Linked DNA regions of Homo sapiens: region 1 is linked to region 2. The links are contacts of gene promoters, found by promoter capture Hi-C in blood cells and fetal thymus (Javierre and others, 2016). All regions are on one chromosome and are shown on one strand. Each heading gives the region's core, a stretch centred on a gene start or on the middle of the fragment in contact. The rest is flanking DNA. Distances are from core to core; before and after follow the strand shown. Region 1 has its middle 44 kb from the start of SNORA33. Region 2 holds the start of TAAR6 (trace amine associated receptor 6).

Region 1 (4,568 bases), core at 1,521-4,020, 290 kb before region 2:
CCTGCTTTTCGAGCTTTTTTCAAACCTTGGTCTTGGAAGAATGAGAGAAATATAACCTGGAAGTAAAAATCCAGGTTTTCTTGGGCTCAGGAAGGGATTTAATATAAATTGCTCTATTAACAAAATGTCCTTTGTTATAGCCCCAAGGAAAAAAGAAGTCACCATGGACAAAGCGTTTTCTAAAATGCTGTCCCTAGAATCCTACTGGTGTCTCACTAAATCTCAAGCACTGCTATTCCATTTTAATACCCCACTCCCATTTGTTTAACTTTCCACTATATTATTTTCAAGCCTTCCCATGATGCTCTTAATAAGTAAACAATATTATCTTGTCTCCAATTCAGATTTAGTATTTTCTTATTATCTTTACAGATAAGATCAGACTTTGTACATTGTATTTAAGAAAGAATTTATATAGCGATATTATACACACAAACATACACTTTTACATAAAATCTTTCAAACAATGGTGATGAGCACCAGCTTTGGATTTATAGATATAGCTATTATTACTGTATTATTCATTTAAGACAAATACCAACTAATGAGAAAAAAATCCAAAAGAGCCTCCATAACACAGGCATTAAGAGCATTCAGATCTGGGAAAGATAGTTAATCTCTTGAAACTTTTGTTTCCTCAGCCACAAAGTGGAGATAATACCAGAGCCTACAGCACAGAGAGGTGTAAGAATTACAAGAGGATGTATTAAAATACTTGGCCTGCTGGGCGCGGTGGCTCACACCTATAATCCCAACACTTTGGGAGGCCGAGGCAGGTGGATCACTTGAGGTCAGGAGTTTGAAACCAGCCCGCCCAACATGTTGAAACCCCGCCTCTACTAAAAATACAAAAAATTAGCCAGGCATGATGGTGCGTGCCTGTAATCCCAGCTACTCAGGAGGCTGAGGTGGGAGGATTGCTTGAGTCTGGGAGGCAAAGGTTACGGTGAGCCGAGATCATGCGATACGGCACTCCAGACTGGGTAACAGAGCAAGACTCCATCTTTAAACGAAACGAAACTAAACTAAACTAACATAAAATAAAATACTTGGCCTTATAAATGCTAGCTACTATTATCTATGTCGCTATTGTTTTTATACCTTTATTATTAAAGCCCTTAAAATTGAAATGACTTTTAATGTATCTCTTAAGATTGCTATTCAATAGACATTTTACCAATGCTAAATATGGGGAAGCAATGAAACACAGCTAATGTCAAGCGCCTAAATTAGAAGTAGGAACAAGGTTTTCTGAGTTCTCGGCCTATTCCTTTCTAATCTCTTCTTAGAACTTAGCCAACACTGAAAAGGCAGCACTTCTGAATGAAGATAAAGGAATCTACCAAAAAGTAGGTTACGCAAGTTTCCTAGGAACCAAAGTTATGTGAGTCGTGCATATATGAATTGGATTCATCTAATCCATTCAGTTTGAATATGAGTATTTACATTAAAATTCATGAAAAATACAAAAGCATTATATATATTGCAAACTTATATTCACCATACGTTGTTGTTAATGCTCAAGCAGGAACAAAATAAAAGAAAAAAGTATAAAGGTAAAATGTGTATATTTTCCCCCATAAGTAATTTTTGCTTCATTCTGCTTTGTGCTTGAAAAATCATATAAAAATATAAACAATATTCCTATTTTAAAACTCTTTCATTTTGTTTTGTTGTTGTTTAGCATTTATAGATTCTGGAGGTTGGGTGCGGTGGCTCACGCCTGTAATCCCAGCACTTTGGGATGCCGAGGTGGGTGGATCACCTCAGGTCAGGAGTTCAAGACTAGCCTGGCCAACATGGTGAAACCTCGTCTCTACCAAAAGTACAAAAAAATTAGCCGGGTGTAGTGGCAGGCACCTGTGATCCCAGCTACTTGGGAGGCTGAGGCAGGAGAATCGCTTGAACCCGGGAGTCAGAGGTTTCAGTGAGCGGAGATTGCGCCGTTGCACTCCAGCCTGGGCAACAAGAGTGAAACTCCATCCCGAAAAAAAAAAAAAAAAAAAAAAACAAAAAAAAACACACAAATAACTTTCTGAGAAGCTTTCATTTTCATATTGTATATTTGATGGATGTTTCCCAAGATTTTAGACCAAATATCAAATTTTCCATATAGTACCAAACGTGACACATAATGGGTTCTCAAGATACATATTTGTTAAGTTAAAGAATAGCAATTTATTGTGAAAGTGCCTATGCCTACACACAATAGACCCTTAATAATAAATGATTTTTGAATCTGAATGTTATTCTTTGTTTACCAAAATGACAACAGAATTGTAATGAAAGGATTATAACATGGTTGACCATCGGTCAAGTGGAAAACCTTCTAGACCCCATCTACTTCTCTGTTGTAATGGTAAGGTTCCTGAGTACTCTAGGCAGCTCTTGAAGCGCAAATCAGATGAAGTGGGCCTAACAGTGTTTCTTGAGTGTGGGATGGTCCATAAAGACTTCCTTGAAACCTCACTTTGAAATACGCTGCCCCACCATCCTCATGATAACTTTGTATTGATCAGTCTTTGAGCCATAGGCTGAAGTACAGTATAAAGAGTCGTATTTCTTACCCCCTATTACATATGACTTAATATCTTTTGGCTAGAGACAAAAGTTATATCAGATATATTTAGAGAAAATGTATGTAATGAGAGTGACTAATGTATCATGACTTACAAATATCATGCCTAATATGTTTATTAGCTATCTTTACATGTTTTTGAAAGTTGTAATGTTTGAATGAGCAACAAATTGACCAAAAGCTAAACACTAATGTGAAAATTGAGCAGTGTTGGATATAGTCAGAGGGCAGGGAGTTGTGAAAGACTAAAGAAAAGATGGATGAGAAATATGAATACAAAGAAGTTATTAGAAAAATGGGATCAAACCCAGAAGAGAGGACGGTAAAAGTCAGAGGAATGCCCAACTAAGAAATCAGAGTATCAGAAGGCTTCAGTTATCATGCTGAACTTGAGAGTTAACCTTGTTCCCTACAAACTATGCCTGTCTATACTGGGCTGAAACTATCCTAAATCAGTAGGCGTAGTGGGCCTTGATTATAGCAAAACTCTTGATAAAGTCTTTAAAAATAAATTTGTAGATGAAATAAATATCACAAAGCATAATTTTTTTCTAAGACTTATCCTATTGCCTTATATATGGATAGCAGACACTTATATGGAAAGAATGAGGACTGTGATCTGGGGAATACCACATTAAATGAATTCATAGCTGGCTGATAACATATTTATTAATCAATGCTTTACTATCCTCTCTATTGAGAGTTATTGGAAGACAGAGATCATGTAATATTATCTTTGCAACCCTGGCCTGAGCAAAGGGCCTAAATACCCAATACATATCTGCAGATCAACTGAACCTGGAGGGAGATAACCAGCAGCTTATCTCAGAATGCAGATGTTCAATTTTTTCATCTGTGATTTGAATGAATACCTAAGAGGTTTTAAGCAAATTAAATGTGTGGATAACATGAAAGCTTAAAGGATAAGATGCTTTAAATACTTGATTGATCAAGAGGCCACCACCACTCATCTTAAATACAGCACTTAATGGGAACTATAGCAGCAATAGTAATTGAGCATTTATATGAAGTCAACACCATTAGGAACAACTAGATGCAAAGGTAAACTGAGGGAAAACCATGTTGCCTGCCCTCAAATGAGATTATTTCATTTTTTTCCTCTGAATGCCATTTAAATAAGTAATAAAAATTTAAAATGTAAGTCCTTGGAAATATCTAATATATGTAATTAACTCTGATTTAAATTTCGGGTGAATTTGATCAAACATTGAGAAAAGGTTTGAAACTTTAATAAAAGCCAGAGCATGAAACTTTAATTTAAAAAGGAGCAGTTTCATGGAAGTGTCCAAAAATAATTTTGCAAAAAATAATATTTTTTGAGTGGCCACCAGACAAAAGTGTTGAGTGACCAACTAATTTGAAAAACTGATTGTTCCCCAGTGTTGTTAGAAAAAAAATTATAGCATTAATCGGTTTTGAAATAGGCCTTTGCCTGGACTAAAATTTTGCCCAAATAAGATACAGGGTCCTTCTGGCACACTTTGAGCTTAGGATAGAACCATAGAAACTTAGAGACACTACCTTACATTTGGAAGCAGTTCTACTTTCTTAGCGAGAGGATCACGGGAAACTTCTGTACCTGTAGGGCAGTGGAGATCAAGATGTGGGAGCCTGGGTTTCTGACTGACCTTTCAGCAAAGGGTACCCATTTCACAGTGGCAAAGATGACGGCCTTAGCTTCCCCTTTCTTTGATTTCAAAGGTTTATTTCCTGCCATCTCTCACAAAATAAAAAGACCAATTCAGAGGTAAATTTCTGTATTAAAAATGGAAACATCTGACATAAGCAGAAATGTGCAGAGAGTCATATTTCTGACTATGTAATTTTACCCTCTGTTTTCAGGAAGAAATTTAGAATTTTCTTCTCCAAACTCATAATTTTTCTAGTATATTGTCATCTCAACGTGACAGCAACTTGAAGGAATAAAAATTTGAGGGAAGGAAAATTAAAACATCCCTTTCAAAGAATA
Region 2 (4,364 bases), core at 134-2,633:
AAAGAGGAAAGGGAATAAATAAAAAAAAAAAAACAAATATTTTTAGGAAAAATACCAGAGCAGAGGGAAGAGTCAATGGATTAAAAGACAAAAAGTGTCTGCAGGGAGTGGGATATGCTGAGCTCTAAAGCAGTTAACAAATAGGAATTTAACATTTGTTAGCCAAGTAAATACTTTTGCAGAAGGGACAGGAAAGTGCACATCTTAACAAGACTGAAAAACATTGATTTGTTTTTCATTTGAAGAGCAATTTATTTGCTATTCATTCATAGTCTTACTTGATTTTTAAAAACTCATTTCGCTTGGTAATTTTAAAGGTATCCTGAACTTCGTCTATACAACTGCTTATATATGTTCAGAAAACAAATTCATGGTTGCTGAACTGTTCTTTAAAACCTGACCAGTTACAATAACTTTTATTGCTTTCCTAAACCATGGGTAAAATAAAGCATAAATCAAAGGATTCATGGCTGAGTTATAATAAGCACACCAACAGCAAATCTCATAAATACAGGCAGGGGTTATAAAGCCCATAAAGGCATCAATTAATGAATCAATGCTATATGGTAACCATGAAATCATAAATGCTACCACTGTGACCCCCAGGGTTTTAGCTGCTTTTCTCTCTCTCCTGGCCACTCTGGCTTTGTAACTCTCTGAGGATGATTCTGTCTTGCTACCAGTATTTTCTATCTTTTTCGCCTGTCGTCTAGCCACAAGAAATATGTTACCATACAGAATTATCATAATAAAGGTAGGTATAAAGAAGGATAGAAAATCTGTCAACACCCAGTTTTGATTTACAACGGTCTGACAACCTCCTATACAGTTTAGGGCATCAGATAATTCCTCCAGCCCATCGTCATAGACACCTGTGTAGAACACAGCACCGCTGTACATGAGGGGCAGGATCCAGGACACGCTGATGCAAATTCCTGACACAGATACGGTGAACTTGGTAGGATAGACCAGGGGGTCAGTAACCGCAATGTACCTGTCGATGGAGATGAAGCACAAGTGAAAGAGAGAAGAGTAACAAAATGCCACATCACAGCAGGTGTGGAAAGTACAAAAACTCCTCCCAAAATACCAGCAGCTCTCCACCGTCCTGACCATGCTGAAGGGCATCACAGTCACACCCACCAAGAAATCAGCGCAGGCCAGAGAGGCAACGAGAAAATTGGTCGGAGAGTGCAGCTGCTTGAAATGGAGGATTGAAATCATCACCAGGAGGTTTCCAAACACAGCCAGCACAGCCCCAAAGCCAAACACTATGTACAGAATCACCCGGGATCCCGGCGAGAAGGGGATTTTCACACAGGACCCATTCACGTTCGCGTAGCACAGCTGCACAGCCACCAGCAGGGATGAATTGCTGCTCATAACGCTGTTATTTACATATGGAGAAGTTTTGTCCTTGTTGATTATCACAAAAAATACAGGATTGTTCCTGATTTTCAGTGCTCCTGCGGAAAAAAACACATATTCACCAGGATGCCAGAGGAAATGATCAGATATTATCTCTAATATAATTTTTCAAGTTTCCATTTTTATTATAAATCCCAAATGTTTATGACAAAATAAAATTTGACAAAAATTATATTGCACAAGATTATTGGAGATTGTTTCAACTGATAAATGTCTCATGCTCTTAATTTGATAAAATTCCTTTTGATTTTAAATATCCTTTCATATTTTATTTTTACCTTTTGAGTTTCTCTGTGCAACAGTCGCTGATATGGAATGTAATTATGGAGCTGAAAGATCACCTCCTGTTATCTTTATCTCTGTTATCTGTCCTGCATTACCGCCTTAAAGATGAAGTCCTTTTAGCTAAATAAATGCCTTCAATGGGAAAATCCCTCGATGGAATCCCTGTAGTGCGCGGTGTGAACTAGTATGATTATTTTCAACAGTGATTACTAGGAAAGTTATTCTACAAAACAGGTCTCTACTCTATATTAAATTCTATTATCATTATTGTTTTAGGCCAAAGATTTGTTTTTCCTTAGTGCATAGACTTGAACCATTCCCTTGTTCCCAATCATAACTTAGCCACCCGGGTTTTTGTTACAAAGATACAATAGGGTGTAAATAGTAAGCATCAATACTTGGCTCTTTCTCTTCTGTTAAGAATCAATTTTCCATCTGCATTGGTTACCAACAAGCAGAAATTATTATAATACATAGTGAGGGGAACTTGAGATTGATAAAATATATTGCATGAAAGCATTAAAGAACGACATGCTGTTTAGACACACCGGCATTTCTGAGATGCTGGTGGAAAGACCAGTCCTCTTCTCAAGACATTGTTACTGGGAACACATCTGCAATGTGTCTGCATCCACATGACAAATGGGCAGTGAGCCCTCTCTCTCTGACTACGCATTTGTTTGCAATTCCTGGTGACTGGCCTTTGTGCTCCCGATGCTAAAAGCAGTCAAAAAAATAAGAATAATGAACAGGAAACTGGAAAATGGGAAGAGAATCCTCAGTAATGTTCCCAACCCTGGAATGTAAAGACACTGCAGAGTGAAGAAAATATTGTTATTATTATATTATTGTCTTCCTGAAGAAGGGTTCAACTCTCTTTCCAGTACAGGGCTGTGACTTTAGAGACATTTGTGAACTTGCTTTTCAAGTTATAAAGAGTGATAAGTATTATTATTAATCAATCTCGCTATCTGATTCCTACTCAATAAAATTAACACTCTTAACCAAGTAGTTTTCAGATGCTTCTTAATATTTTCTGTATGTCTGATTTTGTGAAATGGTGTCAATTTCTTATATAGACAAAACCCCGTGCGGGGCTTTCTCAACTTGAGCACAATGGACTTTTGAATTCAGATAACTCTTTGATATGATAAATTATTCTGTTAATCACGTGGCTTTTAGCAGCACCCCTGCTACGAGATGTCAGTAAAATCCTTCTAGTTGAGATACCAAAAACGTCTCCAGACATTGCCAAATTCCTCAAGGGACAAAATCAACCCCCTTCCTCCATTAAGACAATTGTCTTAGGCAATAAAAAAGTGTCAAGTGATGCCTCGATTTCAAATAGAAAAATAACTTTATATCCCTTCATCATTCTGATATTCATTTATTAATTCATCTATTCAACACATATTTATTGAATTCCAGTAGCTGTGTATTCAAGTAATGAACAAAACTGTTATGACCACTATACTCACGAAGCTTATAATCTTAAGAGGAAAACAAAACTTAAGGAAATAGAAAGACAGATTTACAATTTCAAATTGTGATAAGTACTACACAGACGAAAGACAATAGCGTCTACAGTAAGCACAATGACAGGCAGATGAGACAAAGGGGTCCCTAAAAACATGAGAAAACAAAAATTCTACTTTAATATTTATAGAATTTTAGATATTCTATTTTTTTATTGTACCACTTAAACGTACTAGAGGATTCTGTTTTAACTTATACTTTAATGTTCTGGATTAGTGAATAAAGAGCCCTAGTCCAGTGCTGACATGGGATGTCAATTGGAGGGTGTTTTCAAGGCCTCTAAAATTATTGCACATATACAACTCTTTCAATCTTGCTCCTAAAACCATCATCATAAATGGATTTGGATCAGATAAGATCGAGAGTAAGCAGAAATCCTCTTTCCCAGAGTTTTATGATTCTAACACCCGGGGAAGAATTTGGAGGCAAACTTTTGAGTGTCTTGCATCAGCTAAAGTTTTCAGTCTCACTTCTACACTTGCTCTTTAGTTTGCAGGTTGTGAACTCCTTAAAGACATTTCTAAAATAAAAGTCCACTAAGTAAACCATCTCCCCAGTGATCCAGAGTGTGAAACATTCTTCATTATGACTAAGGTGGGAGAAAGATGTGATAATGAGGCCCTGTTGTTGCAGTACCCAAACTCAGAAGTTTGTTAATAAGAGAAAGGGGAGACAAATGTTTTGTACTCTTGTCTCTTTGGATTAGAGGCTAAAAGCAACCAAACACAAAGCAGGGTCGAAGTGTTCAACTGTAAAGGAAAAGAAGTGGGCATTGATTATATGCAATCAATTTATCTAAGTTATGGTCTAAGTAATTCTTCAAGTTAGTGCATAGCTGAGTCAGTGCTCAGGTTGATTCATTCCATAATCCATTTGTGTTTGACAAGTATTTCTTAGAAATATAGATTAACAGCTTGTGGAATACTTTGAGTAGGGTGAGAAACAGTATGAAAGTACTTTTTCTTCAATCACAGCCTCCAAATGAGCTCTAGCAAATCTTCCTTTTTTAATACCTTAGTTTTATATCTGAGGTAGAACTCATACTTGTCCAGTCATTTTTCTTCATTTTTTCGTTTATTTGCTATATCAATTTATACAAGTGTAATTAAAGTAAA

What was found. Contacts are between HindIII fragments. The CHiCAGO score rates a contact against its expected background, and 5 or more counts as called.
Region 1: a fragment that was not itself captured here is called in contact with the fragment with the promoter of TAAR6 in region 2 in 1 of 17 cell types (neutrophils); the score reaches 5.2 in neutrophils.

What each region holds. Positions count from the first base shown.
Region 1 is chr6:132,859,253-132,863,820 of GRCh38, reverse strand. No RefSeq gene overlaps it. Among named protein-coding and RNA genes, the nearest start is that of SNORA33, 44 kb to the right of the region's middle. The HindIII fragment of the contact is 1,450 bases long and covers 2,046-3,495 here.
Region 2 is chr6:132,567,341-132,571,704 of GRCh38, reverse strand. TAAR6 (trace amine associated receptor 6) reads right to left here and starts at 1,383. Exons shown (of 1, transcript NM_175067.1): 1 at 346-1,383. The coding sequence starts at 1,383. The coding sequence ends at 346. The HindIII fragment of the contact is 3,206 bases long and covers 1-3,197 here.